Regions from separate parts of the Homo sapiens genome. Here regions 2, 3, 4, 5, 6 and 7 are each linked to region 1. Evidence: promoter capture Hi-C in 16 types of primary human blood cells and fetal thymus (Javierre and others, 2016). All regions are on one chromosome and are shown on one strand. The core of a region is centred on a gene start or on the middle of the fragment in contact, and the rest is flanking DNA. Distances in the headings are between cores, read along the strand shown.

Region 1 (4,075 bases), core at 1,034-3,533:
TTTAGCTGAATTTTATTTTAACTAAATGTTATCTCTGATAACTGGCAGAAGCTTAAAATCAAGACATAAGTGTGTATCTTTCTATGTTGAACGTATACCTAAAGAAGTATACTTATTAGGAATGACAATTAAAATCTCGTACTTGAAAAATCGATACTTTTTTCTTTTTTCTTTTTTTTTTTGAGATGGAGTCTCACTCTGTCGCCCAGGCTGGAGTGCAATGGTGTGATCTCTGCTCACTGCAACCTCCGCCTCCCAGGTTCAAGCTATTCTCCTGCCTCAGCCTCTTGAGTAGCTGGGATTATAGGTGTGCACCACCATGCCCGACTAATTTTTGTACTTTTTAGTAGAAATGGGGTTTCACCATATTGTTCAGGCTGGTCTTGAACTCCTGACCTTGTGATCCACCCGCCTCGGCCTCCCAAAGTGCTGGGTTACAGGCATGAGTCACCACGCCCGGCTGATACTTTTTTCTTTAAATTTTTTGATGTGTATGATAATATTGTGGAAAGAAAAAGTAAAGCCTTGCCCTATGTTTTTTGGCTCTTCTGATCCCCCAGGAAAAGAGAGGCATGCATATAGGTAGACCAGGTGAGTGACAGCCCTCAGGAAGAGAAAATAAAAGAGGAGAGATTCAGATCAAGACTTTTTCTAGTTTTCAAATATGAAAGGTTAAGAAGAGAAAGGGCATTTGCGGCTCACAGCCAACCAGCTGGTCGGCATTCCTACTACCCAAATATCTAAATGACATAAGGGTGAATGTGGGGTGAGGGTGAGAACGGGAAAAAACACAGGCCGCAAATTCAGTCCCATCTGGCACTTCATAAGACTTAGTATTTTCATCTTTGTCCTTCCAAATTTATAGGTTTACTCTTGCCCAACCTTCATATTGTTTTTATGGGTCTCCAGGTGGGTCATGCGTAGGAAACTTTAGGGGACTACTTCATACTTGGTGGGAAGTACTTAAACTTGTAAACCCCAAGCTAAGGGTAGTTATGATCCCGGTGGGTGGCCAATTCTCCCCTTAAACCTATGTTTATCCTGCCTTTCCTCCCCCTTTTCTTAAACGAGTCGGGACGGAGAGCTGAGTCACCTGAGACACAGAGAAGGGACTTTTGAGAGTGTCTTCCGTCCCATTTGCGGACGTTAGATGAGCACACCGGGATCCTTGACTCAGCCCGCTCTAGGCGTGGGCGTTGTGTCATTCCCCACACGTGACACTCTCCCAGGCGGCAGAAACCTCACTTGTCATGGGACTTATTCACTCCAGTGACTCCACCCCTTACCTCCTCTGTTCCCCAACCTCCCACTTACCCTTTCCGCCCCACTTCAAGACTTGAGGAGAGGAGGGTGGCTGGAGCCTGGAAATGTCCCCGTCCCAAGTTGGCCAGAAGTAGCAGACACACTATGTGGGAAAGTGCCACATGTAACGTTCCAGTTTCACCCTTCTCCAGAATGCTATCACCCTTCCTGTTTATTTTTTAATAACTTGAGATATAATTCACACGCCATATGATTCACTCACTTAACGTGTAAAGTTGAATGTCTTTTAGCATATTTAGAGTTGTGTATTCATCACTATAATACATTTTTTAGAACATTTTTATTATCCCAAAACGAAATCCCATACCTATTAGCAGTCACTCCCATTTCCCCTCATCTCACCCTTGCTCTTCCATAGCACAAAACAGTTCTATTCTATTCGAGACCACCTTTCCACTTGGGCAGACCCTGGTTATGGTTTTTTTTCCCTCCCTTTCTGTTTCCAGTTTTTTTCGGAGCCCGGAATTCTCAATCTGGGTAATTGGTTTGAGTCCCGGCTCAGCCCGTTTCCCGTTGTAGCTGCGTGACCTTGAGAGCAACGCCACTTTCCTGGGCCTAGTTTCTTTGTCTGTGAAACGAGGTCCAAATATCTACCTCTTTACGCCTGTTGTGGGGATGAAGTGAGTAGGTGCTTTGTGAGCTTTAAAAAGCCATAGAAATGCCAGCTAAGTTAACTCGTCACTCTTCCCGAACCCCTCCCTTTCCCCTGGGACCCGCCCCGCGAATCCCGCTGTGGATGGATACTTCTCCCCACCCGCCGACCGCAGTCTTTCCCATTGGCGCCCGCACCGTCTTCGCGGCGCCGGGTGTTGACGCCATGGCTTCCTCCGCCAGCGCCCGAAGACGCTTGGCCCCGCCCCCGGCCGCGCCTGGCCTCCCGCGGCGCCCCGCCCATCGGGCCGACGCGGCGCCGGCCCCGCCCCGCGGATGACGTGTGGCGCGCGCGGCCGGGCCGCCCCGGCAGTTGGTGCAGCGGCGGTTGGGGTGAGAGCGCCTACGCCACCCCTCCCCTCCTCCGGCCCCGGCCCCCACCCCGCCGGGCCCAGCCCCAGCCCCGGCCCGGGCTCCAGCCCTAGTACCCGTCCCAGCCCGAGTCGGGTCCGTCCCGTGCGGGCAGGTGCCGCCCCTCTGCCGGCGACGCCCCGGGCCGCCCGCCCGTCCGCTTGCCACCATGGAGCTGGAGGACGGTGTGGTGTATCAGGAGGAGCCCGGCGGCTCCGGGGCCGTGATGTCGGAGCGGGTGTCCGGCCTGGCCGGCTCCATCTACCGCGAGTTCGAGCGGCTTATCGGGCGCTATGACGAGGAGGTGGTCAAAGAGCTGATGCCGCTGGTGGTGGCTGTGCTGGAGAACCTGGACTCGGTGTTCGCGCAGGACCAGGAGCACCAGGTGGAGCTGGAGCTGCTGCGGGACGACAACGAGCAGCTCATCACCCAGTACGAGCGGGAGAAGGCGCTGCGCAAGCACGCTGAGGAGGTGAGGCCGGCGGCAGGGCGGGGGCCGCGGGATCCGTCTCCGGGGGCGGCCGGGGCGGGGTCGCGGCCCGGTCGGGGACTAGAGGCGCGACGGGCCTCCTGGAGGGCGGGCCTGAGGCCGATGCCCCCTGGGACCGATCCCGGCGGCCTCCAGGTACCCCGGGAGCCAGGCCGGCGTTGGAAGCCGAGGCCGGCTACTGAGTGTCCTGGGAAGGGAGCGAGATGGAGGAGGCAGGGCCCGGGGAGGAAGCGGCAGCCTGGCCTGAGGACACCTGGGGTTGGCCAAGGGCGGAGATTGTTGGGTGTCTGGTTGCTTCTTGTTGAGGGAAGTTTCCGACCACCGTGGGATAGTCAGATGGCGGTTCAAAGTTTTACCCTTGGGGAGGGGGACACTTCTGCCCTGGATATGTAACTTCCGCTAGTTCCAGTACCTTTCCAGGGGGTTGCCTTGCTTTGGGAAGTTAGAGATCTCCCTCTTTCGGTCAGTTTCTTCTTGACGTTTTAATCTTGTTGAGAAAGACGTCTTATTTTATGTTCTATGTGCCTTGGTTGACACTTTGTCAACTTTTAGATGTTGTGTGGCAGTACTCAATAAATATATAAACAATTTCGTTGGTATCCCAAACCAAAGCATTCCTCCGTATCAGGTTGTAACCTTGGACAGTTCCCTTCAAAAACCCTCCGTTTATTTATAAAAAGGATTGGGGGGCGGGGTTGGGAAGATGTAGGTGACAGTTGGCAACACTTTTTCCGTCTGAGTTTCCTTCTTAGACTGCTGTTTATACGTGCATTTGGCCACCTGTTAACTCTAGCACCCGAGCAGTGACCTGGGCGCCCTCACCTCGACTCTGTGAACCTTTTGGAGTTCTAGGGTGCAAGTGATAGGTCCTTGGCTTCTTGAGACTGACAAGGAGTTTAGCTTTCAGCCTGCGTTGGCGTTATTTCTGTGGACCTTATCAAAGGCAGGTGATGTGTCCTATTTTTGTTTCTCAAGCACCTAGCACACCTGCTTAAATACATGGTGATCAAAGGAGGCGAAATAACTAATTATTGAAGGAATGACATAGTATTTTTCAAAAAGACTTGAAGAGTTTTTAGGATGTGAGGTTTGTAGCTCATTTCCTGACACTGAATAGTAACACCATTAAATTTTTGTTTTATTTTGTCACGTATACCTTTGCATCTGGTTAAATAGTTCTTTTTCCTTTTTTAAAAGCTTGACTGTAGTGATGATTTTTAGTTCTGATTGTGGGATCCAATTTTCTCAAAGGAATGCTAT
Region 2 (4,075 bases), core at 759-3,258, 410 kb after region 1:
AAAGAGAACTCATAGACTTTGGGGGCCGGGCGCGGTGGCTCATGCCTGTAATTCCAGCACTTTGGGAAGCTGAGGCGGGCGGATCACCTGAGGTCGGGAGTTTGAGACCAGCCTGAGCAACATGGAGAAACTCCGTCTCTACTAAAAATACAAAAAATTAGCCAGGCATGGTGGAACATGCCTGTAATCCCAGCTACTCAGGAGGCTGAGGCAGGAGAATCGCTTGAACCTGGGAGGTGGAGATTGTGGTGAGCCGAGATCGCGCTGTTGCACTCCAGCCTGGGCAATGAGAGCGAAACTCCTCCATCTCAAAAAAAAAAAAAAAAAAAAAAGAACTCATAGACTTTGGGGTGCAGTCACGAACAATTTTTTTTAACTGCATTAAAAACAAAAAACAACAACAACAAAAAAACAAAAACAGGCCAGGCGCGGTGGCTCATGCTTGTAATTCCAGCACTTTGGGAGGCTGAGGCTGGCAGATCACATGAGGTCAGGAGCTGGAGACCAGACTGGCCAACATGGTGAAACCCCATGTCTACTAAAAATACAAAAATTAGCCGAGCATGGTGGCACAGGCCTGTAATCCCAGCTGCTCGGGAGGCTGAGGCAGGAGAATTGCCTGAACCTGGACTTAGAGGTTGCAAGGAGCTCAGAGATCGCCCCACCGAACACCAGCCTGGGCAACAGAGTGAGACTCTGTCTCAAAAACAAGCAAACAAAAACAACAAGCCACTACCTACTCCCATGTCACTGAAATTGTGTTGAAGGACTCAAATCCAGTGCCATACACATCAGTTTCAGATAGAGTATCATGCTGGATGTGAGAATTAAAATTTAAATTGGGGGAACAAATGAAAATGTAAGCTCAAGCAGGGTTACAATTTGCCATGGGGGTCAATTTAAGTGTGTAGTCAGTTTATATTCAGCACCACCTGGTGTGCACTGTGTACTGTGTGAATTACTGTATCATACTAAACAAACAGACATTGGTTTTTCTTAAACTGTAGCAAGAAAAATGCTTGCTGTGCAGATCCCAGCAGCCCCAAGAGACGGAAATGAAAACTCCATGCCTAAATTTATCCCTTCCTATTTCATCTCTCCTTGTTCAGGCCTTCCTCCCTTCCTCCCCAGGGCTATTTCCTTAATCTTGACCCCATCTGTAAAGTTCCATCCTGTGCCACATCGGAGGATCTCTTCAGGGCACCTGGGCTCAACAAAACAATATTTCCTTTTTCTCCCACTGGGTATAAAACAGTGCCAACTGAGGCTCTGAGCCTCATTAGATAGATCGGGCAAGAAGTGAAGCAAAATGCTGTTTACATGTACACCACAGCTCTTCCCAGAGCACTTGGAATCAGGACCAGGACACCTCCAAAGCCTCTTTGGTGTTTTTCCTTTCTTTTCTCCTTATATGGCCTTCATGAAGAGTAACTAATTACAATCTGTAAGCAGTAATTACAGTTCATAAACTGTGAGCACAATATAAATATTTTTCCTGAAAGCCAGGTTAGAAGAAATCCTGTCTAAAATGAGATGTAAAACAACAACAATTGAAATAAATATTCTAACTGAATTGTCCCCAAGCACTGTCAAAAAGAAGAAGAGTCTAATCTATCTCTGTAATAATGGGCGTATTATAGTAGGATCGTTTTCAGCCCATTTCCCCATCCTGCTGGGCACGAATTGGCTCAGATAAGGAAAAGGAGCCAACCAAACTGGGGGAAAATAACAAAAAAACCCCAAATCCCAATAAAAAGAACCCACCAATTATTTTGGATGCCTGGTAAACAGCCTGCACCAGAGGATAAGGCTTTTCTGGCCCTCAGCTATGCTTTTTTCTCTTTTCATGTGTCTTGTCCTCCTCCCTTGAAACTGCGGGGTGGGGAAGTCTAAAAATAGTCAATGAATCATGGCATATAATATTGTGCAGTAGTTACATAAACAGCCAGCCCGGGCGCCGGAGCCCCGGGTCGGAACGGAAAATATCTGGGTCAGCGTTGTCACACTGAACAGGGTCCCCCGGAGCCGGCCTTCGGGAGGCGCGGCCCGGGAGGAGGCCTGGGCCTGCGGGCCGGGAGCAGCAGGGGCGGCCCGCGGGAGGGAGCGGAAGTCCCGGGGCGGGCGCGGGCAGCGGCGCGAGCAGGGCGGGCGAGTTCCGCGCTCCCTCCCCATGGCCGGGAGCGGGCCGCGGCGACGGCGGCGGCGCTGACAGGCCCCGGGCGGGGCGGGGCAGGCGGGCCTGGGCGGGGGCCTGGGGCTGTGGGAAGATGAACGCCCTCCTAGAGCAGAAGGAGCAGCAGGAGAGGCTGCGGGAGGCCGCGGCCTTAGGGGACATTCGGGAGGTGCAGAAACTGGTGGAGAGCGGGGTGGATGTGAACTCCCAAAATGAGGTCAACGGCTGGTAAGTGGGGAGCGGGGGAGGCCTAGGGTCAGGGCAGCCGGTCGGAAGGCGTGGGGCAGTCAGTCGCGACCTGGGCCCAGCGCGGGACGCCTGGCTACGGCGAGGCCTGCCACCTCGGGCCTCCGAGATTGTGCTCTCTTGAGGCCAGCCCTGGCCCCCATGCCTCGTGCGGTCGGGAGCGCGTCCTGCCCAAATCCCGGCCCACGTGGTCCACTCGGGGCAGCGCCCACTGGGACTCTGGTGCCCTACCCCCTTCCCCCGCGCTCCCGGCTCACTTGGTCAGAGCGGTGCTGGAGGCAGTGATTCTCAGCGACTATGCGTTGGAGCTCACCCCAATTCGAGTGTTGAGTTAATTTGCCGTAGGTGCTTCTGGAGAACGCATCTTGCAGAGCTAAAAGCATAAGCAACTGAGCAAATATGAATTTTATAAACTAGCACGATTTCCTTAGCCAAGACCAGGAAAAAAAAACACATTTGCATCACCATTCTGCTTCTCTGTTGTTTCACTGCAACCGATTTGCTGCTGCTGCCTGTAGTTGCCTGTTTGAGGGAAAACTCATTTGTTTATCCTATCGATTATTTTCTTTCTTTTTTTTTTTTTTTTTTTTTTTTTTTTTGAGACAGGGTCTTGCCCTGTCGCCCAGGGTGGAGTGCAGTGGCATAGTCTCGGCTCACTGCAACTTCTACCTCCCCGGCTCAGGTGATCCTCCTGCCACAGCCTCCCAAATAGCTGGGAATACAGGCACGCGCCCCCACACCCGGCTAATTTTTTTTTTTTTTTTTTTTGGTATTTTTGGTAGAGATGGGGCCAGGTTGGTCTCAAACTCCTGGCCTCAAGTGATCCACCCGCCTCAGCCTCCAAAAGTGCTGGGATTACAGATGTGAGCCTACCGTTCCTGGCCAGTTTTCTTATTACAATTTCAAATACAGAATGTCACCCAAGACTTTAGATGTCTGCCTGCAGATTGAATTCTTCCCAATTAAATAAGGAGTCTCATCTTAAGATGTTGCTGGTGGTCAAAACAGAAAGTTACTGAATGTGGCATTATTCCGCTCTCTGCATTTAAAATTTAAAATTTTGATTCAGGTAATGCTTAGCCAGACTATTTTGCTAGCTTAGAGTTAAAGTGAGTAGCACTTTGGGAGGCTGAGGTGGGCGGATCACGAGGTCAGGAGATCAAGACCATCCTGGCCAACATGATGAAACCCCGTCTCTACTAAAAATACAAAAATTAGCTGGGCGTGGTGGTGCATGCCTGTAGTCTCAGCTACTTGGGAGGCTGAGGCAGGAGAATCACTTGAACCTGGGAGGCGGAGGTTGCAGTAAGCCAAGATTGCACCACTGCACTCCAGCCTGGGCGACAGAGCAAGACTCTACCTCAAAAAAAAAAAAAAGTGAGTTTACATTTTGTTTTTTTAAGTGGAATCATCCATTTTGGAACTGAAAGGGACAATGGAGAGAGGCTCAACCACAGAGAATAACTTGCCCTAGGCCACATAACTATTAATATGATAGCACCAGAACCATGGTTTCCAGACTGCCTCAAAAGTCTACCTACCTGGACCTGGCGCGGTGGCTGACGCCTGTAATCTCAGCACTTTGGGAGGCCAAGGTGGGCAGATCACGATGTCAGGAGTTCGAGACCATTCTGGCCAACATGGTGAAACCCTGTC
Region 3 (4,075 bases), core at 575-3,074, 400 kb after region 1:
AAGGTCATGGTATTGTACATAGGCCAGGCGCTGTGGCTTACACCTCTAATCCCAGCACTTTGGGAGGCCAAGGTGGGCGGATCACTTAAGGCCAGGAGTTCGAGCCCAGCCTGGCCAACATGACAAAACCCCATCTCTACTAAAAATACAAAACTTAGCCAGACATGGTGGTACACGGCTGTAATCCCAGCTACCTGGGAGGCTGAGGTATGAGAACTGCTTGAACCTGGGAAGCAGAGGTTGCAGTGAGCCGAGATGGCACCACTGCACTCCAGCCTGGGCGACAGAGCAAGACTGTCTCAAAAACAACAACAACAAAAAGCAAAACAACAAGTTTATACGGTATTGCAATAAACAATGATGAAAATACACAAGAACCAAGGGATAATTTTTTACTGTGATATGCAATTTACTTTAGACACCAACTGCTCATGCAGAGATTATCAAGAGTCACAGGTCATAGGGCATTTTAAGTGGAGCCTGGCAACACTTGAGCTCACTGTAATAGCAACAGGTGGCTACAAAATTATTACAGTATTACAGTATGTACTATAGTTAATTTTATGCAGTTATTACTCAAGCTTTACTTTCTCTGGACTGCTAGTGGCACCATGTACTGTGTGCATAAGTTTTTATAAAGTTTAACTTTTTATGATTCGTATGTATTTTGTGGTAGGAAAATGATAAACTAGTATATACATCTATTTTATGTATTTGTGATGTACTTATCTTTTCTTAAATTTTAAAAATATTTCTAAGCTATGTGATTCGTCTTCAAGTTTTTTCAAATTGTTGCAAATCTCCAAAAAATGTTCCAATATATTTATTGAAAAAACTCCACGTATAAATGGACACACTCAACTCAAACCCGTGTTGTTCAAGGGTCAATTTTACTTTTCCCAATGGTAGGATTTATCATATTCTGTTATGGAAATGCGTTTACATTCAATTGGAATAATCCCCATTGGAAAAAAAAAGTGCATTTACTGTCACCAATACATGATGGCTCTTTAGGACCAAGTGCTGTATCTGTACTATCCTGCTGTTATCTACCTAAGAGCAATACTTTTAATTTTTTTTTTGAAATGGAGTCTTGCTCCTGTCACGCAGGCTGGAATGCAGTGGCGTGATCTCGGCTCACTGCAACCTCCACCTCCCGGGTTCAAGCGATTCTCCTTCCTCAGCCTCCCGAGTAGCTGGGATTACAGGCGTGCGCCACCACACCTGGCTAATTTTTGTATTTTTAGTAGAGACAGGGTTTCGCCATGTTGGCCAGGCTGGTCTCAAACTCCTGAGCTCAGGTGATCCACCCGCCTCAGCCTCGCAAAGTGCTAGGATTACAGGCGTGAGCCACCGCTCCCAGCCGAGCAATACATTTTTGTTGGATAAATGAATACAACAATTTTCCTAACTTACTATAAGAAATGAAGAGAAAGGCTGGGCATGGTGGCTCACCCCTGTAATCCCAGCACTTTGGGAGGCCGAGGGAGGATCACTTGTTGTCAAAAGTTCAAGACCAGCCCGGCAAACATGGTGAAACCCCATCTCTACAACAACACAAAAATTAGTCAGGCATGGTGGCATGCACCTGTAATTCCACCTACTCTGGAGGCTGAGGCAGGAGAATCGCTTGAACCCGGGAGGTGGAGGTTGCAGTGAGCTGAGATCACACCACTGCACTCCAACCTGGGCAACAGAGCAAGACTCCATCTCGGGGGTAAAAAAAAAAAAAAAAAGAGAAAATATTTCATAAAACGAAGAACTGTATTAGCAAAAAAGTCAAATTTACAAACTTAAGCTACCTTCTCCTTTTGTGAGGAAATCAAGGCTAATAACATATATAATGACACACACACACACACACACACACACACACACACAATTTTCCTAAAGCAACCAAAGATTTACGAAATACCTTACTATAATTTTCAGTGATTATGGTATTGTGGTTATTTTATTCTATTTTTTTTTTGAGACAGAGTGTCACTCTGTTGCCCAGGCTGGACTGTGGTGGCACCATCTCGGCTCACTGCAACCTCTGCCTCCTGGGTTGAAAGGATCCTCCTGCCTCAACCTCCAGAGTAGCTGGGATTACAGGAATGCACCACTACGCCCAGCTAATTTTTTTATTTTTTATTAGAGACAGGGTTTCACCATGTTGGCCAGGCTGGTCTCGAACTCCTGGCCTCAAGTGATCTGCCTGCCTTGGCCTCCCAATGTTGAGATTACAGGTGACCCACCATGCCCGGTCGGCTATGTTTTTTTTTTAAAGTCCTTGTATTTTACAGATATACAATGACCGCTTTAAGGTTGACAATAACAGAATTGCTTCAAAATAATGGAAGGGATACAGAGGAAATAATATTGACTATGTGCTAATATTGCTAAATTGGGCATGGGTACATGGGGAGTTCAATTTATTATACTATTCACTCTAATTCTGTATGTTTTGGGAAGAAAAGCAAATAGCAATTACATACACATATAACACATGGACTGCTGGCAATTCTGAGAAGCCAACACTTACTATTTTACTATGGAGTAAGGTAGGAAATGCCAGCCGGGCGCAGTGGCTCACGCCTGTAACCTCAGCACTTTGGGAGACTGAGGCGGACCGATCACTTGAGGTCAGGAGTTCAAGACCAGCCTGGCCAATATGGCAAAACCCTGTCGACTAAAAATACAAAAATTAGCCGGGCGTGGTGGCCCACACCTGCAATCCCAATTACTCGGGACGCTGAGGCCAGGAGGTGGAGGTTGCAGTGAGCCAAGATCATGCCACTACACTCCAGCCTGGGTGACAGAGCTAGACTCTGTCTCAAAAAAAAAAAGGGGGGGGGGCAGGGAGCAGGGTAGAAAATGCTTTTCTATCTTACTCCATAGTAACATAGTAAGTTACTATGAACATTTTGGTGACTCTGAATGAAAACTAGTAAAATACATATTAATAGATGCCATCATGCATTATAATTACTAGTTTTTTGCTTTCAATTTTTGCTCCCAAATTCTGAACATTTTTAAAGCAAAAAGAAAAAGTATACAAGTAAAAAATGTGGACAGAAGCTTTAGCTATTTTTCCTTTTCTAAACAACTTTTCAGTGTCAATGACAGTATCTGCTAACATTCCAAAGATTTTAGAAAAGAACATAGTTCAATTTCCTTCATAAATTATTAAACCTTCATGTTAAACCTTCATGGAAGGAAGGGTAGGCTTGAGTTTGATAAATGGAAGAAAACTCATTTCAGATATTAGAATCAGTGTTAATGATTAAGTAATTTCATTTTCAGGTTGAGATCTAGAATATAAAAACCTCAATTTGAACTACAAAATTTCTGTCTTGCTACATAAAAAATAACAAAACTCCCGATCAGACTTTACAATTTACTACAATCTTCTAATAATATGGCTACTAGTGCCTTCTCTGGCTAACACTGAAATCAAACCCTCACTGAAAGGTACTCACCCTAGGCAGTTAGTTACAATCACATGCTTTCCTCATCACTGTGGTTGTTTAGGATTAACCAAGCAATTGCTTAGTGCAAAAAACCAAAACAATAATCTCAAACAATTGCAAAATACAAATAAACACGGTGGGAGGGTGTACCAATGAATCCATGAAACAGTATTAAAGCCGACTTCACTTTAGCTGCAGTTTCTCAGATCCAGAGGTAGCAATCTACAAAGTTGGAAATGCCTGTAAAAGCACTAGCCCCAGTAAAATACCTTGGTGAAGGTTACATACACACCATTACAAATAAATGGTCGATGATTTTGCATCACAGATGCATCCTTCACTTGAAACTGCGCTTCGCAAGTGCTGCTTGCTCACTTATTACCCATCATGAAAAGGAGAAAAAAGTACAGTATTAGAATCTACTACCAAATTAATACCAATTAAGATTTAATTGTGCAGATATGCACAATTAAAAGCCCAGGACTAATCAGGATGGGTCAGGAAACAGTAGGTCACAAACTTTAGAATGCATAAGAGGAGCCGGCCGGGCGCGGTGGCTCGCGCCTGTAATCCCAGCACTTTGGGAGGCCGAGGCGGGCAGATCACGAGGTCAATAGATC
Region 4 (4,075 bases), core at 586-3,085, 360 kb after region 1:
CAGCCATGCTGAACTCTCCACAGGGCCCTGTGAAAAGCTCTTCACCTCCTCTGCCCTCTGGATCTAGTGAAGCCTATTCATCCTTCAGATGTCAGCTCAAATAATCAACCTTCATGGAGGCCTCCCTTGACCCCTAACATGCTTTCAAAGTACTGTGTATTTCACATTCATCATGCCCCGACAACTGTGATTTCCCATTTATTAATATCTGTCTCTTCTGCTGGCCTGCAAACTCCAGGAGCACAGAGACATCTTTGGGATTTTTGAACATGATTTCCCCAGGGCTTAGCCCAGTGCCTGGTGCAAAGCAGGCTTTCAACATGTTCAGTGGATATTGTAAGAAAGAAAGAAATACACAAAAGGCCTGGCATATGCAAAGCACTCTAAATATTCACTCCTTTCCCTTCCCTCTGGGTGAGAAAATTTCTCCTTATAAAGACACCCTCCTAACTGTATCTCTGCTAGAGAACTGAAGACATAAAGCACTCTGTGCCAAAAATATTTAAGTAAAAACTTGAGCTAAGCACAGAGATTATAAATATTTCTTCCCCAGATTACGCACCATTTAAAAATACTGTCTCAGCTCCTTTTCATGATTTGGGTGGTGATTAAAGAAAATTACTCTTCAAGACTGAAAGTCATTACTGCCCTTTTCCTGACTTGCCTTTTCCCTTGAGAAGGGGAGGATAAGCTGCAGGGCAGGAAGTGGAAGTGGGGCATCCTTGTCCTTTGTCTGGCAGACAGCCAACTGGTCAGGTACTGCTCCTTCTCAACTCTTTCCTGATTCCCAGGTGAATATAAACAAGAAGGCACAAATCCACACTTGCCAACAACGGACCCAAGTGATAACAAGAAACCCAGTGACACCTGTCTAGGTGAAGACTCAGCCCCTATGTGACCAGGTTGCAAAGCCAAACTGACCATCTGCTTTCCATTTGGACTTTTAGTTCATACTGTATCTTCTCAGGACAGTTAAGTTGGAATACAATGCCACTGTCCTGAAAGATGGTAGAATTATCCTATTTCTGGAGGAGTGGGGGTGGTGGGTAGGAATCTCAAGAGCGATTTGCTCCTCTGCACAATAGCTTCTTTAAGGACACCAGGGCCCCCAGGGCTATACATTTCCCTGAAGCTTTCCAGATAAGCAACAAGGTATGAGCACCTGCTATGTATTGCCCAAGGGTGATGTGTTTAAATATCCATTGCATATTTTAAATCCTTGGCTGGCTTAAAGCTGCAAGCTTTCTGTCTTCAGTGGATATAATGGGGGCATACATCCCAGAGCTTGCCCAACACTCCAAGAAAAGAACCCTCAGCTAATGCAAAGTGTGTATGTGCCCATGAAAGCTCCATGTCTACTTAACATTCAGTTTTTAGGATTATTTATGCTGTAATAATAGATATGAAAATCTCTGACAGGTATTTTGTTTCCTTTACAAACTGTATTTGAATTTATGGGTGATTTAGAGCTTGTGTTTAAAGTCAGAATTCAGAACCCCAAAGAAAATGACTTCATTGAAATTGAACTGAAGAGACAAGAACTGAGTTACCAAAACCTACTAAACGTGAGTTGCTGTGAACTGGGGATTAAACCAGAACGAGTGGAGAAGATCAGAAAGCTACCAAACACACTGCTCAGAAAGGTAAGGGTTAAGAGTTTCTAAATGCAGAATCACAGTGGGTGACATCATGTTCTCTGGAGCCAATCGTTTACACTTCTGCATTTCATGACACCAGAAATCCTGGCTGCAAAACGGCCAAACATGGTAGCTAGGTCATTTTCAATCTGGCGCTTTTAAGATTTGCACATCTAATCCATAAACCTTTTAAAAACCTCTAAATGGTCCGATCACGGTGGCTCACACCAGTACAATCCCAGCACTTTGGGAGGCCGAGGTGGGCAGATCACAAGGTCAAGAGATCGAGACTATCCTGGCCAACACGGTGAAAACCCGTCTCTACTAAAAATACAAAAATTAGCTGGGCATGGCAGCGCGTGCCTGTAATCCCAGCTACTCAGGAGGCTGAGGCAGGAGAATTGCTTGAACCCAGGAGGAGGAGGTTGCAGTGAGCTGAGATAGCACCACTGCACTCCAGCCTGGCGACAGAGCTAGACCCTGTCTCAAAAAAAAACAAACCTCTGAATGACAAGTGACTCCCCAATTTAAGGCTTTAGTTCAGTGCTTTTGGCCCCACCAATCTCTGCAAAATTGACTGGTTAACATAAAATGGCATAGTCCTCAGGAAAAAAAAAAACACAAACCCATCCTTGTTTGCTTAGCAAAGGGTGGGTTTGCTAAGTATTTGAAATATTAGCAAACAAAAATTGTTTTGCATTTTTATATATTTCCCAGATTTAAAATACAGATCTTAATTTTTAATTTTGGAAAGGAAATCTTATTTCTTTGGAAATTTTTCTTTAAAGCTTTCAAAATTCCTTTGGCAATTTTTTTGTTTTTTGTTTTTTTGAGACAGGGTCTCTGTCACCCACAATAGAATGCAATGGCGTGATCATAGCTCACTGCAGCCTCGAAATCCTCAGCTCAAGTGATCCTCCCATCTTAGCCTCCAGAGTAGTTGGGACTACAGGGACACACCACCACACTCCATTAATTTCTTTTTTTTGAAATGGGTCTGGCTATATTGCCCAGGCTGTTCTCAACCCCCTGGCCTCATCCTCCTAAGTGCTGGGATAACAGGTGGTGAGCTGCTGTTCCTTTGGCAATCCTTACTGGTGTCTTGGCTTATAGTGTATATTCTTTGTAAACTAACATGTCAAGGGATGATCATGCTTTCCAGATACCTTAACAACAAAAATCTGCTGGGTGTGGTGTCTCATGCTTGTAATCCCAGCACTTTGGGAGGCCGAGGTGGGCGGATTGCTTGAGCTCAGGAATTTGAGACCAGCCTGGGCAACATGGTGAAACCCTGTCTCTACAGGAAAATACAAAAATTAGCTGGGTGTAGTAGACTTGGGAGGCTGCAGTGGAAGTGGAAGGATTGCTTGAGCCTAGGAGGTTGAAGCTGCAGTGAGCTGTGACTGTGCCACTGCACTCCAGGTTAGGTGACAGAGCGAGACCCTGTCTCAAAAAAAAAAATACAGAACTATCTTATGGGGACCGGGCGCAGTGGCTCACACCTGTAATCCCAGCATTTTGGGAGGCCCAGGTGGGCAGATCACCTGAAGTCAGGAGTTCAAGACCAGCCTGGCCAACATGGTGAAAACTGTCTCTATAAAAAATACAAAAATTAGCCGGGCATGATGGCGCATGTCTGAATCCCAGCTACTCAGGAGGCTGAGGTTGCAGTGAGCCAAGTGAGGCAGGAGAATCACTTGAACCTGGGAGGCGGAGGTTGCAGTGAGCCAAGATCGCATCATTGCCCTCCAGCCTGGGCGACAAAAGCAAGACTCTGTCTCAAAAAAAACAATACCTTATGGGTTCAGAACCCAAGATGCTGAACAATATTAATATTAAGGTTTTCTATTACATTCAAATTTATTAAGCATAATATAATTTCTTTTCTACATTAAGGACAAAGACATTCGAAGACTGCGGGACTTTCAGGAAGTGGAACTCATTTTAATGAAAAATGGAAGCTCCAGATTGACAGAATATGTGCCATCTCTGACAGAAAGGCCCTGCTATGATAGCAAAGCTGCAAAAATGACTTATTAAATACTCCCAGGAATGGCCGCGCATGGTGGCTCACCCCCTGTAATCCCAGCACTTTAGGAAGCCAAGGTGGGCAGATCACCTGAGGTCAGGAGTTCTAGACCAGCCTGGCCAACATATAGTGAAACCCAGTCTCTACTAAAAAAAATACAAAAATTAGCTAGGTGTGGTGGCGCACACCTGTAGTAGTCCCAGCTACATGGGAAGCTGAGGCAGGAGAATCACCTGAACCCAGGAGGCAGAGGTTGCAGTGAGCTGAGATTGCGCCACTGCACTCCAGCCTGGCGACAGAGCAAGACTCTGTCTCTCAAAATAAATAAATAAATAAATAATCAATCCCAGGAATTAAAAAACTGAAATCATTATTTCACAAATAATGAAGTCTGGATGCATATACCAGT
Region 5 (4,075 bases), core at 914-3,413, 330 kb after region 1:
ATGGCGACCACGAACTCTCACCTTGACGATGGCAATACCCTCCTAAGGGGACTCCCCACTTCCCTTCTTCCTCTTCTCCAACCCAGGTTCTGTCTGCACATGGAGTGGCCTATTGGAAATATCATTCAGATTGCCTCACCTCCCTGCCTGCGACCCACTAACAGTCCTCTCTCTTCTTTGCTCACTCTGTTCCAGCCACTGAAACTATCCCCACAGGGTTAACAAGAATCACATGTCAGGTTCTGGACAGAAATAGAGTTATAATTAAGCTTTAATTTGGCTGCTTTCTGACCCACTTCCTTGTTGCTGAGATTCACATAGCACTAGATATTGACCACTTGCCTCCCCATTGTCCCTACACATAGGATTTCTTTTTCTTTTTTTTTTTTCTTTGAGATGCAGTTTCACTCTTGTTGCCCAGGCTGGAGTGCAGTGGCGCGATCTCGGCTCACTGCAACCTCTGCCTCCGGGGTTCATGTGATTCTCCTACCTCAGCCTCCCGAGTAGATGGGAGAATCACTTGAACCCAACAGGCAGAGATTGCAGTGAGCCGAGGTCGCACCACTGCACTCCAGCCTGGACGACAGAGAGAGACTCTGTCTCGAAAAAAAAAAAAAAGAAAAAAAAACAAAACAAAACTTTAAAAGGGCAGGGCCTTCGTCTACTTTATGTGCAGCTGCCTCACAGTGTCTAGAACAGGGCCTGCACACTGCAGGTGCTCCACAAATGTTTGCTGAATGAAAATGGGATGGTGGCTGGTGGAGAGAGTTACTGATGGTGGCAGGTCGCTGTGCAGGAGGAGGCCTGGGATTTGGAGCTCAGATCAAGGGGCTGTAATCATGTGTGCAAGGGCCCCAGTGCTTTACTCCCTGTGTCTTTACCGTGTGCATCTACCATCCTGGTGCCCTCCCACTCAGACTCTGGGCTCAGCCACGTGCTTGCTGTGGCCAGCAGGATGTTAGCAGACCGGAGGCAGGCAGAAGAGGGCTTAGCATCTCCATCTGTTCTTGCCCTGAGCTCCACTATGAGAACATGCCCGGGCAGGCCTGCTGAAGGATGAGAGACCCATGGATATGTGAGGAAAGAACATTCCGGGCCAAGGGAACGGGCAGTGCAAAGGCCCTCCTTCCAGATAGGGGCTTGCCTGGTGTACTTGAGAAGGAGCACAGGGCCAGTGGGGCTACAGCCAAGTGAGAGAGGGGACCACGTTGCAGGAGCTCCTGGGATCCAGACTGTGGAGGGCTTTGTAGACCATTGCAAGACTTAGGCACTTACTCTAAGCAAAATGAGAAGCAGAGGCCTGGCAAGCTCTGACTTCCATGCTAAAAGGATCACTTTATTGCTGAGAAAGAAGAGATATGGGGGCGGTGCAGAAGCAGGGAGACCAGTGGGAATGGGAGGGGATATTGCAATAATCAGACTAGGGTGGCCGCAGCGGAGGTGGGGAGAAGAGGTTGGATCTGACTATGCTGTGAGGTCGGATCTCAGAGGATGGGGTGGGGGTCAGTGAGAGGAGGTGAGGGGTTCTGAGCTGAAGAACACCAAGGCTCAGCCTGGCCCTGCCTGATGGCCCCACCCAGAAATCCCCAGCTCCCTCTGCTCCCGCTGCATTGGCCCTTGTTTTCATCCCCCGAACACATTCCCCTCTCTCCTGCCTCAGAGGTCTCGGTACTTGCCACTGCCTCTTTCCCCTCGCTCTTGGCCTGGCTAAATCCATCATTTGGGTCACAGCTTAAATGTTCTTCCAGAGGCCTTCCCGGGACCCCCACCCACCCCACCCCTATGAATTGTCTTCTCTGCCATCCTCCCTCCTCCTACCCTGTTCTTTCCCTTTCCAGTGCTCCTTTTAATCACGTACGTAATCCTGTGGTTATTGGTTTAACGTCTGCTCCATTAGATCACCAGGGAGCAGGGCCCGACAGGCTGTGTGGGGTCAAGTCCCTGTTATTCCCATCTAGACCTGTGTGAACTGGGGAAAGCTAGTAAACCACTGGGCCTCAGTCTCTTCCTTGGAAAAATGGCAGTAAGGCCCAAGGCAATCCTCCAGGTAGAGCGCTGAGCTCAGTGCCTGGCCCACTGTTCAGTACATGTTAGCTACTATGGGGGCCATGGAAAGGAGGCCAATGTATTTATCTGGAAGCGCTCAGGCTGTTCAGATGACTTCACTGTATTTGGCAAGCTCTCCGAGTGGCATAAACAAACAGCACTCTGAGTAGACTGCTCAAATGAGGCAGGTTTGAAACTGCCTCTTGGCAAATGCACATTCAGGGAAATTAGAGAGATGTGTGCATTTGCTGATTTTAGTTGCTTGTCATCCAAATACCAATCGAGAGGGGAGGATACAAATCTCAAGATGGGCTGGAGGCAGTGTTCCCCCTATGGAAGCCTAAGGGGGCCAAAGATCCAATTCCTGCAGGGGGTGCTTGGGAACTCAGCCTTGGTTCATCCTGCCTAGGACTTTGACACTGACTGAGGGTTATTGAGAAGCTGGGACCATTGAGGTGTCACTCCTCTAATGTTGGGGTCCCAGCTGCCACCATCAAAGGGCAGTGATGGTTGTGAGGTTGGCATGATTGTCCTCATAAGACCCTCCCTGTGATTCTGCCTCCCAGCCTTCTGGGTTCCTGCCCAATTTGTCAGGCTGGTTCCAGTTTACCCTGTGACTCTATGAACCATCCATCATCATTCCAGAAAATTATTTTTGGGCTATAGTTAACCAGGGTTGTTTTCTATTGTTTACAACCAGGATCGTCTCCCCTCCCAGAAGGGGCTGAGTACCAACCCTCAGAAAACCTCATCCACCACCTTGGCTCTGCCCTACTCATTACTGGGAGCATAAACTTCCCTAGGGTGCTATGGGGCGGGCATGTGTCAGTCTGTACTAGGAGTACCCTGAAAACAGGGCAAAAGATGTGCCAAGCTAGATTAGGAAATGTTAACCAGGCTTCTTTCTCTAGCATGTCATACCGCCCCGCCCCAATGCAGGTGGCAGCAAGGATGTCCTTGGGGCAGGAATGTTTCAGAAGAAATGAAGAGAAGCCAGTGGAGCTAGGTCTTGGATACTAGCTTCAAAGTTGAGGTCCTTGCCTCAGTAAAAACACTGATCACACGATGGCTCTCTCCTCCCCACTCCAGCCCTGTTGTCTGGGCTGCAGTAGGGGCACTGCAGAGCTCAGGGAGTAGAGGGGCGCAGTGGTGAAGGCACTTCCTGGTGAAGGCACTGAGGTACCATCTCCCAGAACACCCTCATGTCTCTACACGTAAGGAGACATGCTGCTGTGGCTTGTCTGGGCAGAGAGGGCCTGAGACAAACCCCTCCCCACAGTTTCCCATTGAAGTGGCTGAGAGAGGGTTCTGGGACCACATGAAGCTCAGGATCAGGATGGTATAACAAGGAGGCCAGGTGGGCCGCGGGCCCTCATGGTGAATGCTGATGGGATGGACACGGGCAGTAATGAATCCAGTGAGAACGGAAATCAGCAAATGATGCCCGATAGGGCCAGAGACCATCTTTACAGATACCAGCAGAGAAAACGAGAACGACCAAGATCAGAGCCCTCTCCCTGCTGACACCATTAGCTGGGACCCCAGGGCAAAGGGGGAGGCAAAAACTTAGAATTGACTGAAGAGGCCAGGCGTGGTAGCTCACACCTGTAGTCCCAGCACTTTGGGAGGCCAAGGCGGGTGGATCACAAGGTCAAGAGTTGGAATCGAGCCTGGCCAACATGGTGAAACCATGTCTCTACTAAGAATACAAAAATTAGCCAGGTATGGTGACACATGCCTGTAATCCCAGCTACTCGGGAGGCTGAGGCAGGAGAATCACTTGATCCCAGGAGGCAGAGGTTGCAGTGAGCAGAGATCGCACCACTGCATTCCAGCCTGGGTGACAGAGCAAGACTCCGTCGCAGAAAAAAAAGAATTGACTGAGGAAACCCTGAATTCTGTAATAAAAATGTTTCCACATCGTGCAACATGGGAAATGGAGGTGGAAATCCAAGTCAATTATAGAAAATAGAAACATTCACACTTCTGACTTTGTAACCCATGAAGCTTGTGCCCCTACAAGGAGATC
Region 6 (4,075 bases), core at 587-3,086, 300 kb after region 1:
GACCTTCCAGCCTAGCCCAGCTACCAGCTATGTAGTTAAATGAATGATTCCTATAAGGTAGTTGAATGAATGATCCCTAATATTTTTGCCATTAAAAGTAATGGCAAAAACCACAATTACTTTTGCACCAACCTAACATCACATAGAGCAGAAGAACAGCCCAGCTGAACTCTGCCCAAACTTCGGATCCATAGGATCATGAGCAAATAAAATGTTTTATACACTAACTTTTGGGATAGTTTGTTACAGAGCAATATACAGGCTGGATGCAGTGGCTCACGCCTGCAATCCCAACACTTTGAGAGGTCAAGGCAGGAGGATCACTTGAGCCCAGAGTTTGAGACCAGCCTGGGCAACATAGCGAAACCCTTGTCTCTACAAAAAAAAATAATAAATAAAAATAAAAATAAAATTCTTTTAAATTTATTTAAAAACAAAAAATAAAATGTAGAGCAATATACAAATGGAATAGACATGAGGGAACTGTGGTGGAAACCAGTTTCAGCTGCTCAGCTTCACTGCTCATGACGAATCAGGAGGCAGAGACAAGAATCCTGCCAGAATTCTCTTTAGGATATAAGATAGAACATCTGGGGCTCTTCTCAAAGCCTGTGCCCTTAGCAATGCTCATGACAGGGGTCTTGAGTGTGGGCTTAGAGGAAAGCACCATCAGTAGCCTCTAAGCAAACAGACCATGATTATGATCCAGACCATAATGTTGGCTGGAGTAGACTTCAAATATGTGGCCAGCTCAGATTCTAGGGGAACAGCATTAGAGGGTAAAAGCCCTATTTCCCATTAAAAGCAAGGTCAGGTAAGGGCTTCTAGAAGAAGTGACATCAATACTGAGACCTGAAGGATAAATCATAGTTAGCTGGACAAAGAGGGGACAGTATATGCAAAGGCTGTGAGATGGGAGGTGGCACAGAGCATTGGAGGAACTGGAAGACAGCCAGGGTGGCTGGAGAGGAGGGAGTCCACACAAGTCCAAGTGGGACTCAGAGGGTAGAATCTCTCACCCATGCCTACACCACCACCAGGAAGGAGGCTTTGATTTTTGCCTTCTATTTCAGAAAGGCTTGCTTTGCACTTTGAACTCTGTTTTGGGTTGATCTTGGGAGTGGCGATTTGAGGGAAACAACAAAACAGTATGTAGCTAAGTGAAGAGGTAGACCACAGAAAATATATATTAGTCACTGCTCTAGCTTGCAGCAAGCAGACTGAAAGTCTCACAGGAGGCTGGGCGTGGTGGCTCACGCCTGTAATCCCAGCATTTTGGGAGGCCAAGGTGGGCGGATCATGAGGTCAGGAGTTTGAGACCAGCCTGGCAATATGGTGAAACCCTGTCTCTACTAATATACAAAAATTAGCCAGGTGTGGTGGCGAGCACCTGTAGTCCCAGCTACTCAGGAGGCTGAGGCAGGAGAATCGCTTGAACTTGGGAGGCAGGAGTTGCAGTGAGCCGAGATCGCGCCACTGCACTCCAGCCTGGGCGACAGAGTGAGACTCCGTCTCAAAAAAAAAAAAAAAAAAAGTCTCACGGGAAAGGTTCCTTTGTCCCCCTCAGATGGTGTGCGATGGGGGTATGGCTCGCTTCTTCAGTGCCCTGCTGCTCAAACTTCTAGGGGAACATACAGATGGGCAGGCTGTGGGGCTCTGACCCCACGGCAGTGTCAAGGGGTGAATGTTTACAGCTGAAGCTCCAGTGAGCGTGTGTTACAGGGTGCTCTTTCAGTTTTGCCATCTGTAGGCAGCTTGGGTTAGTCAGCTCAATTAGACCCACTACTTTGTCACTAGGACAGAGGGTTTTCTGTATCCCAGGGTTTCTTGCCTTGGTGTACCAGAAGAATCAGATCACACGTGGGCTTGGAGAATGAGTGCAAGGTTTTATTGAGTGGAAGTAGCTCTCAGCAGATGGGGGAGCCAGAAGGGAGATGGTTTTCCTCTGGAGTTGGGCCGCTTGGTGTCCCAGGCTCTCCTCCAACTGCCCCAGCCAAACTCTGCGTCCTTCTGCTGGTCAGTGGCCTGCTGGCATGCCGATGCCGGTGCCAGTGCGTTCCTCTTGACATCCAGCCGCCTGTGTGTCCCACCGCCAATATACTCCTCTAGATGTCCAGCCGCTTCTGTCTCTGCCCTGCTAGGGTCTCGGGTTTTTATAGGCACAGGATGGGGGTGTGGCAGGACAGGGTGGTCTTGGGAAATGCAACATTTGGGTGCAAAAGCAGGAGTGCCTGTCCTAACCTAGGTCCACGAGGGTGGAGCCCTCGCCAGGGAGCACAACCTTCCTCTACCCAACATTTCCCTTGCGCTGTTCCGTATCATTTAAAGGGACCACGCTCTTCCCTTCCCAGCGTTTCCATATCAAAAGCAGAAGAACCCATGACTGTCCGCATTTGGGCCAAGTGAGCATGAAATAGTTGAGGGATAGAAAGCTACTGCACATTTCATGGTGGAATGATTGGGGGCACTGCTGGGTACAGAGGATGGGCAGAAAATGGGCCAGGCTCATTCATCGGGAGCCACCAGGAGGACTTTCTGCCAGTGAGGAGCCGGGGGGAAGGCGCTTCTCTCCCTAAGTCCAGCAGTCAGACACCATGGTAGATGGCAGGAGAGGTGCTTCCCAAAGTTTGGAGAGGCTCTGTTCCTAACTCTGAGTCAGCAGAAGGAAAACAGGAGGGAATTGGAGGATAAAGAGGGGGCCCATGCAAGGGAGCCAGCCCCTTTGTGCCTGCAGGGCACAGGGCAGGTACAACCTGCCCACTGTGGCCTCAGGTACATGAGGATCAGAAAGGCAAAGACCCCACCACTGAGGGTAGAAGGTGTTAGGGTGCTGGAGTGAGGGCTCAATGCCCGAGTATCCCCTTCCCTCTGGGGTTTCTCAGGGAGGGAGTCATCTTGGTGCCTGAGCCCTGCCCCCAATGCAGAGACCCTTAGTATAGTAGACCCTGATGAACCCTGGGGCTTAGGCTTAGGCCAGGCTTCAACCTTCCAGCTTCCTTCCCCAAGGGTCCTGCCACAGGTGGAGAAGATGGGCCAGAAAGAAAGGGTGGCCAGCCCCTACACTCCCCCAGCTAACTCATCACTGGGACAGTGCCTCCAGGTCTGGCTGCCACGAGGGAGACGTGAAAGAAAGAGAGGACGTAGAGAGAGGCCTCTATCAAGGCCACGTGCCTCTGAAAATCCAGTCACCGCATTCATGAGTAAATTCTGAGTGATGGATGTTCTTGACCCCCACCAAGTAAAATGAGCCACCCTGCCCCCACCACACCCTCTCCACCTTCCACCCTGTTACAACTGAGGAGGTGTCCCTCCTATTTAAGGTCAATGCTGCCAACAATGTGTTGGATCCCAACACTTCCCTTTCTTTCCACCTCCTTAGGAACTTTATACCATCAATTACGCCTTCTGTCTCCCAAATACCTGCCACCTTTATACACATTCATGTCTCTCTTATCCTCAACAGATCATTACATCATTCCTTCCACCCCGTATTCCCCCTCCATGAACAGCCCTGCCTCTTTCTACCTTCCAAGTCAGTCCGCATCCTGGCTCCATTTTCTCACCTCCCAAGTCCCTGAACTCATTCTCCTGAACTCTGTGATCCAGCCTCCCACACGTTACTTTGCTGACAAGCCTGCTGCTAAAGTCACCTGCTGCTAAAGTCACCTGCTGCTAGTGACTACCATGGCCCTAAATGACACAACCAGTCCTCGTTTTCTTGCCTTTCTGCAGCTTGTGACCTGTTGACCACATCCTCCTTCCTGACCACTCTCCCCCTACATCTGTGTTGTGACCTTTTTTCTCCTGGCTTTCTACCCACTTCCCTGGTAGCTTCTTCTTCATCTCCTTTACAGAAGCTTCCCCTTCCACCCAGACATTGCACCCTAGCCCCAAACAGTTAATATATCAGTTGCCAGAGTGGTTGCCATGTGTGGTAGATTTAAGAAGCTCCTAGGTGGCCAGGCGTGTAGTGACTCATGCCTGTAATCCCAGCACTTTGGGAGGCCAAGGTGGGTGGATCACTTGAGGTCAGGAGTTCGAGACCAGCCTGGCCAACATGGTGAAATGCCATCTC
Region 7 (4,075 bases), core at 508-3,007, 270 kb after region 1:
TGTACAGACTATCATATCCCCTTCTATGTGAGCATAAGTAATCTGACAAATGATATCTCTATTAGTTACATGACTTTTCCTGTATTTGGGCATGTTATACTTGTTTTTATCCTATATCACCAAGGGTTTCCAAAGATAGTAATCAGTTTTACCCTCTTGTCATTTTCTAAATTTCACGTGTATCTCTTAAAGTAGGCCTAGTTCTTGACGTCTTTAACCACCCCCATCCTGCAGAACAGAGCCCCCTGGGCCCTCTTTTTAAACATTTATGCAGCACACTTATAGCAGCAATGACCACTAACAAAATAATTATTAGACTTTTAGTCAGCACTTCCATGCAAGAAACAAGATGACAGCTGCAGCATAGGTGTCTCTGAAAAGCTGCTGAATAACTGGCCTGGTGGCAGGCTGATTCCTGGGAGGCGGCAGCTGTCATGGGCACTGTGCTGTGCCATGGGAGGACTTAGCCTCTCATTCCCACTGTCTCCTTCCCATCAGCAGCACCCCTACCATATTCAGCTAAAAGTTTGGAGAACTCATCTTCACCTGCGTGTCATGACTGCTGGTGCTGCGTGTGTGTGCGCACTTATTTGTGTCCCTTTTTGGGAACTCTGGGGTATTGAGGGAGGCCATCAAGAACTTTATTTGCATGAAGATATATAAACCTGGCCAAGCACAGTGGCTTACACCTCTAATCCCAGCACTTTGGGAGGCCGAGGCAGGTGGATCACTTAGGTCAGGAGGTCGAGACCAGCCTGGTCAAAATGGCGAAACCCTATCTCTACTAAAAATATGAAGATTAGCCGGGTGTGATGGTGGGCGCCTGTAATCCCAGCTACTTGGGAGGCTGAGACAGGAGAATCACTTGAAGCCAGGAGGTAGAGGTTGCAGTGAGCCGAGATTGCACCATTGCACTCCAGCCTGGGTAAGAGAGTGAAACTCCATCTCCAAAAAAAAAAAAAAAAAAAAAAAAGAGAGAAAAGAAAAAAGATGTATAAGCTTTTCAGGAGAAAAGATGAGGGCATACTGAGGCTGAGATCAGGGTCATGAGACAATGGGAGTAAAGAGAAATTTGTGTCAATCCTTTGTAACAGGGGTGTGCAATAGAATTTCCTGTAATGTTGGAAATATTCTGTCTGTGTTGTCCAGTATGGCAGCTACCAGCCACATGAAACATGGCACTTGATCCATAACTAGCGTAACTGAGGAAATGAATTTTACGTTTTTATTTAATTTAAATTCATTTACATGAATTCAGTACTAACAGTATTGAAGGGTATGGCTTTATAAAATTTCTGTAAACCCTTGGTACTCCCAGAGGTCAAGGACCAGTTGGAAGTGGTGGTTATGGGTGTTTAGAAGGGGAACCGCCATTTGGGGTCCTCAGCCTTTAACTGCGATGGTTAAAATACATATGTAATATCGTGATAAGGGTACAGGTACCAAATTCGGACAGACTTGGCTTTGAATCTTGGCTCTTTCATTTAATGACCCTATAGCCTTGGGTCCTTTAAACATTTAGAGTCTCCGATTCAGCATCTGTAAAATAGCACCTATGAGGGCCTCTTTTCCTCCATAAAGCCTATAGGGCTTGCCCCATTCATTCATTCATTCGACAAACACTTAATGAACATGGTCAGGCTTGTGTTTGGTGTATAGGTCTTTGCCCTCCTGAAGGTTGCAGCTTAGAGTGTGATCTGCCAAGTGGTGAAATAGTAAAATAATATGGTGCCTTCAGAGGGTTGGGAGGATTCAACCGGGCAGTCCACGTAAAGTGCCTGGCGCAGGGGTTAGCATTCTCATGTCCACCCCACTCCTGGCACTGTGCTTCTCCCCTGCCCAGGGTCCTTGAGAAAACCCTAGGCCCCTCCTCGCTTCCAGGCTACCCACCCAGAAAGGAGATAAAGTCACCGTCGTCTGCTCTCACTTAGACTATGGACAGAATTGGATGCATCCCTCACATCAAAACAGAAAACAAGTTATCTGGATGGGTCCACCTCCTCCCGTCGGGTCTCTGGCAGTGTCCTCAAGGCCTGAAAAGGGCCGAAAGCACGCAAGTGCCCCCTTTGCCCCTGACAGACACCTGGGAAGAGGCCCCACCTCCAGGAGAGGCTAGTCTATGTTGGGCTGGGTTCTGCTTTCCCTCATCCGAGTGGGGTTGAGGGTGGCCAGAGTATTGCTGGAGACCTAGTGGAGTACCGTGTCCCGGGGTAATTTGGGACGGGACCGCAGGGACTCCAACGTGACCCTGAAATGGGTCGAGGGCCTCAGGAGCCTGGGAGGCAGGCAGGAGAGGGGTGAGGGGCTTGCCCACCTGCCCACCCTGCCCTCTCCCTCAGGAGATGTCAGCTGGAGGTTTACTCTTCCTTCCTCCTGACACAGCCTGAGTGAGGAGTGTCACCTGACCTCAGGGCACATTCCAGAATGAGGCCACAGCCAAGAATAGGGCCCAGGAACCCTGCCACCCATCCCGCCTGCATTAATCACAAATTCTCCAGAGTAGGAGGGAAGCTTCAGACTCTTCAGAGAGGTGGGAGGAAGAGGAGGAGGAGGAGGCAACATGAGGTGGAGCTGGGAAAAAGAGGGAGGACCCCAGAGAGGCCCCTTCTAGGCTTGTGGTTGTTCAGTGCAGCAGCGCTGAGTGGCCCCTGGTCCCAGGACCCTCTGTTTCACCCAGCAAGCACCCCCATGAGCTCTGAGAGCTGGGCCCACAGCTTCCTGGAGGCCCTAGGCAATGATTCTGATCTGGATCAGCACAAACACAGAGGGAGAGGGACTCAGAGAGGAGTGCTCACACAGCCGGGGGACAGCAGAGGCTTCCCCAAGGAGCTGAGTCTTGAAGGATGAGTAGGCAGAAGGCTGATGAATCTAGGCCAGGACTGCTTGTGTGTGTGATAGAAATACTTGTCACAGGGTGAGGTTGTAAACAGCCCTGAGTGGTATGTGTGTGCTGATGGGAGGCAGTCTCTTTAGAGATATTTGGGGTCCTGATAGGACTCCACACTGCCCAGCCCAGAGCAGGGTGTGTGTGTGTTTGTGTGTGTGTGTTGCACACTAGGAGAAACAACATAACATGAGCATTAAGAGCTCTGGGCTGGGCGCGGTGGCTCATGCCTGTAATCCCAGCACTTTGAGATGCCGAGGCAGGCGGATCACCGGAGGTCAGGAGTTCGAAACCAGCCTGACCAACATGGCAAAACTCTGTCTTTACTAAAAATACAAAAATTAGCCAGGCATGGTGGCACACGCCTGTAATCCCAGCTACTCAGGGAGGCTGAGGCACGAGAATCGCTTGAACCCGGGAGGCGAAGGTTGCAGTGAGCTGACATCATGCCACTGCACTCCAGCCTGGGTGACAGAGTGAGACTCCATCTCAAAAACAAAACAAAACAAAAACTCTGAAGTCAGACTGGCAGGATTCAAGTCTTGGCTCTGCCACTCATCCGATTTGGGGCAAGTTTCTTATCCCGTCTAGCCTTAGTTTTCCTACCTACAAAATAGCCTTCTGTCTCCTCCAGTTGCAGTGGAGCTTACAAGAGCTGGTACCTGGCACATAGGACGTGCGCAAGCATGCTGCTGTTTTACAATAGGACAAGGGGACGGAGGGAGTTCCCCACGGCCTAAGGCAATCACCGATGCTGTGGACTCTAGTCAGGGTTCACCCCATCCCTGCTCTCCAGCCCCACTGTCCGGGGGGTGACATCAGACTACGGAGCGGCTGGCTAGACAATGGAGCAGAGTGTCCTAGCAGGCTGGAGGTGCTGGGGGAGGCGGAGGGTGGAAAAAGCCAAGCTGCCCTGCCCCAGAGGCCCTGGGGGCTGATCTGGAGACAGGCCCGCTCGGGAATAGTCCTCTGAAGAGGCAAACTGAGGGTCAGAACAGGAAGGAGAGAGCCAAGTGGGTGCAGGAAGGTGAGGAGTGAGTATCCAGGGCAGACAGGAGACAGGTGAGTCTAGCCTGGATAAAGGGGCCTCAATTTCGTTATGTCCCAGGACCTAGGCTGGGGCCAAATCTCCTCGATTTGACTGAGCAAAGCAACCTCCCGAGACTGGCTGGCAACCAGGCCCTGGGAGCT

Evidence for each region. The method cuts DNA at HindIII sites, captures the fragments that hold promoters and counts their contacts. A CHiCAGO score of 5 or more calls a contact.
Region 2: a contact is called between the fragment with the promoter of ANKRD40 here and the fragment with the promoter of SPAG9 in region 1, in 3 of 17 cell types (naive CD4 T cells, naive B cells and fetal thymus). The highest score is 5.5, in naive CD4 T cells.
Region 3: a contact is called between a fragment that was not itself captured here and the fragment with the promoter of SPAG9 in region 1, in 9 of 17 cell types (naive CD4 T cells, non-activated CD4 T cells, erythroblasts and 6 more). The highest score is 8.0, in naive CD4 T cells.
Region 4: a fragment that was not itself captured here is called in contact with the fragment with the promoter of SPAG9 in region 1 in 2 of 17 cell types (fetal thymus and monocytes); the score reaches 5.8 in fetal thymus.
Region 5: a fragment that was not itself captured here is called in contact with the fragment with the promoter of SPAG9 in region 1 in 4 of 17 cell types (naive CD4 T cells, fetal thymus, total CD8 T cells and 1 more); the score reaches 6.2 in naive CD4 T cells.
Region 6: a fragment that was not itself captured here is called in contact with the fragment with the promoter of SPAG9 in region 1 in 1 of 17 cell types (total B cells); the score reaches 6.5 in total B cells.
Region 7: a contact is called between a fragment that was not itself captured here and the fragment with the promoter of SPAG9 in region 1, in 7 of 17 cell types (naive B cells, naive CD4 T cells, total B cells and 4 more). The highest score is 5.6, in naive B cells.

The regions. Positions count from the first base shown.
Region 1 is chr17:51,119,076-51,123,150 of GRCh38, reverse strand. It overlaps SPAG9 (sperm associated antigen 9), which reads left to right and starts at 2,283. Exons shown (of 30, transcript NM_001130528.3): 1 at 2,283-2,797. The coding sequence starts at 2,495. RefSeq lists enhancers at 932-1,191, 1,801-2,030, 1,547-2,361, 2,651-2,770 and silencers at 2,171-2,550, 2,801-2,880, 2,901-3,030. The HindIII fragment of the contact is 3,961 bases long and covers 54-4,014 here.
Region 2 is chr17:50,705,847-50,709,921 of GRCh38, reverse strand. ANKRD40 (ankyrin repeat domain 40) reads left to right here and starts at 2,008. Exons shown (of 5, transcript NM_052855.4): 1 at 2,008-2,401. The coding sequence starts at 2,268. RefSeq lists silencers at 2,063-2,272, 2,403-2,672. The HindIII fragment of the contact is 9,335 bases long and covers 1-4,075 here.
Region 3 is chr17:50,722,418-50,726,492 of GRCh38, reverse strand. The region is part of intron 1 of LUC7L3 (LUC7 like 3 pre-mRNA splicing factor); the gene reads right to left. Among named protein-coding and RNA genes, the nearest start is that of LUC7L3, 4.9 kb to the right of the region's middle. RefSeq lists an enhancer at 1,058-1,557. The HindIII fragment of the contact is 2,482 bases long and covers 584-3,065 here.
Region 4 is chr17:50,760,965-50,765,039 of GRCh38, reverse strand. ANKRD40CL (ANKRD40 C-terminal like) reads left to right here. Exons shown (of 4, transcript NM_001358683.3): 3 at 1,483-1,643; 4 at 3,534-4,010. The coding sequence ends at 3,677. Among named protein-coding and RNA genes, the nearest start is that of ANKRD40CL, 4.5 kb to the left of the region's middle. The HindIII fragment of the contact is 1,184 bases long and covers 1,244-2,427 here.
Region 5 is chr17:50,784,210-50,788,284 of GRCh38, reverse strand. No RefSeq gene overlaps it. Among named protein-coding and RNA genes, the nearest start is that of MIR8059, 18 kb to the right of the region's middle. The HindIII fragment of the contact is 3,784 bases long and covers 272-4,055 here.
Region 6 is chr17:50,818,837-50,822,911 of GRCh38, reverse strand. No RefSeq gene overlaps it. Among named protein-coding and RNA genes, the nearest start is that of WFIKKN2, 15 kb to the left of the region's middle. RefSeq lists an enhancer at 3,563-3,622. The HindIII fragment of the contact is 4,047 bases long and covers 1-3,859 here.
Region 7 is chr17:50,844,103-50,848,177 of GRCh38, reverse strand. It overlaps the pseudogene RPL5P33. Among named protein-coding and RNA genes, the nearest start is that of WFIKKN2, 11 kb to the right of the region's middle. RefSeq lists an enhancer at 3,233-3,758. The HindIII fragment of the contact is 1,512 bases long and covers 1,002-2,513 here.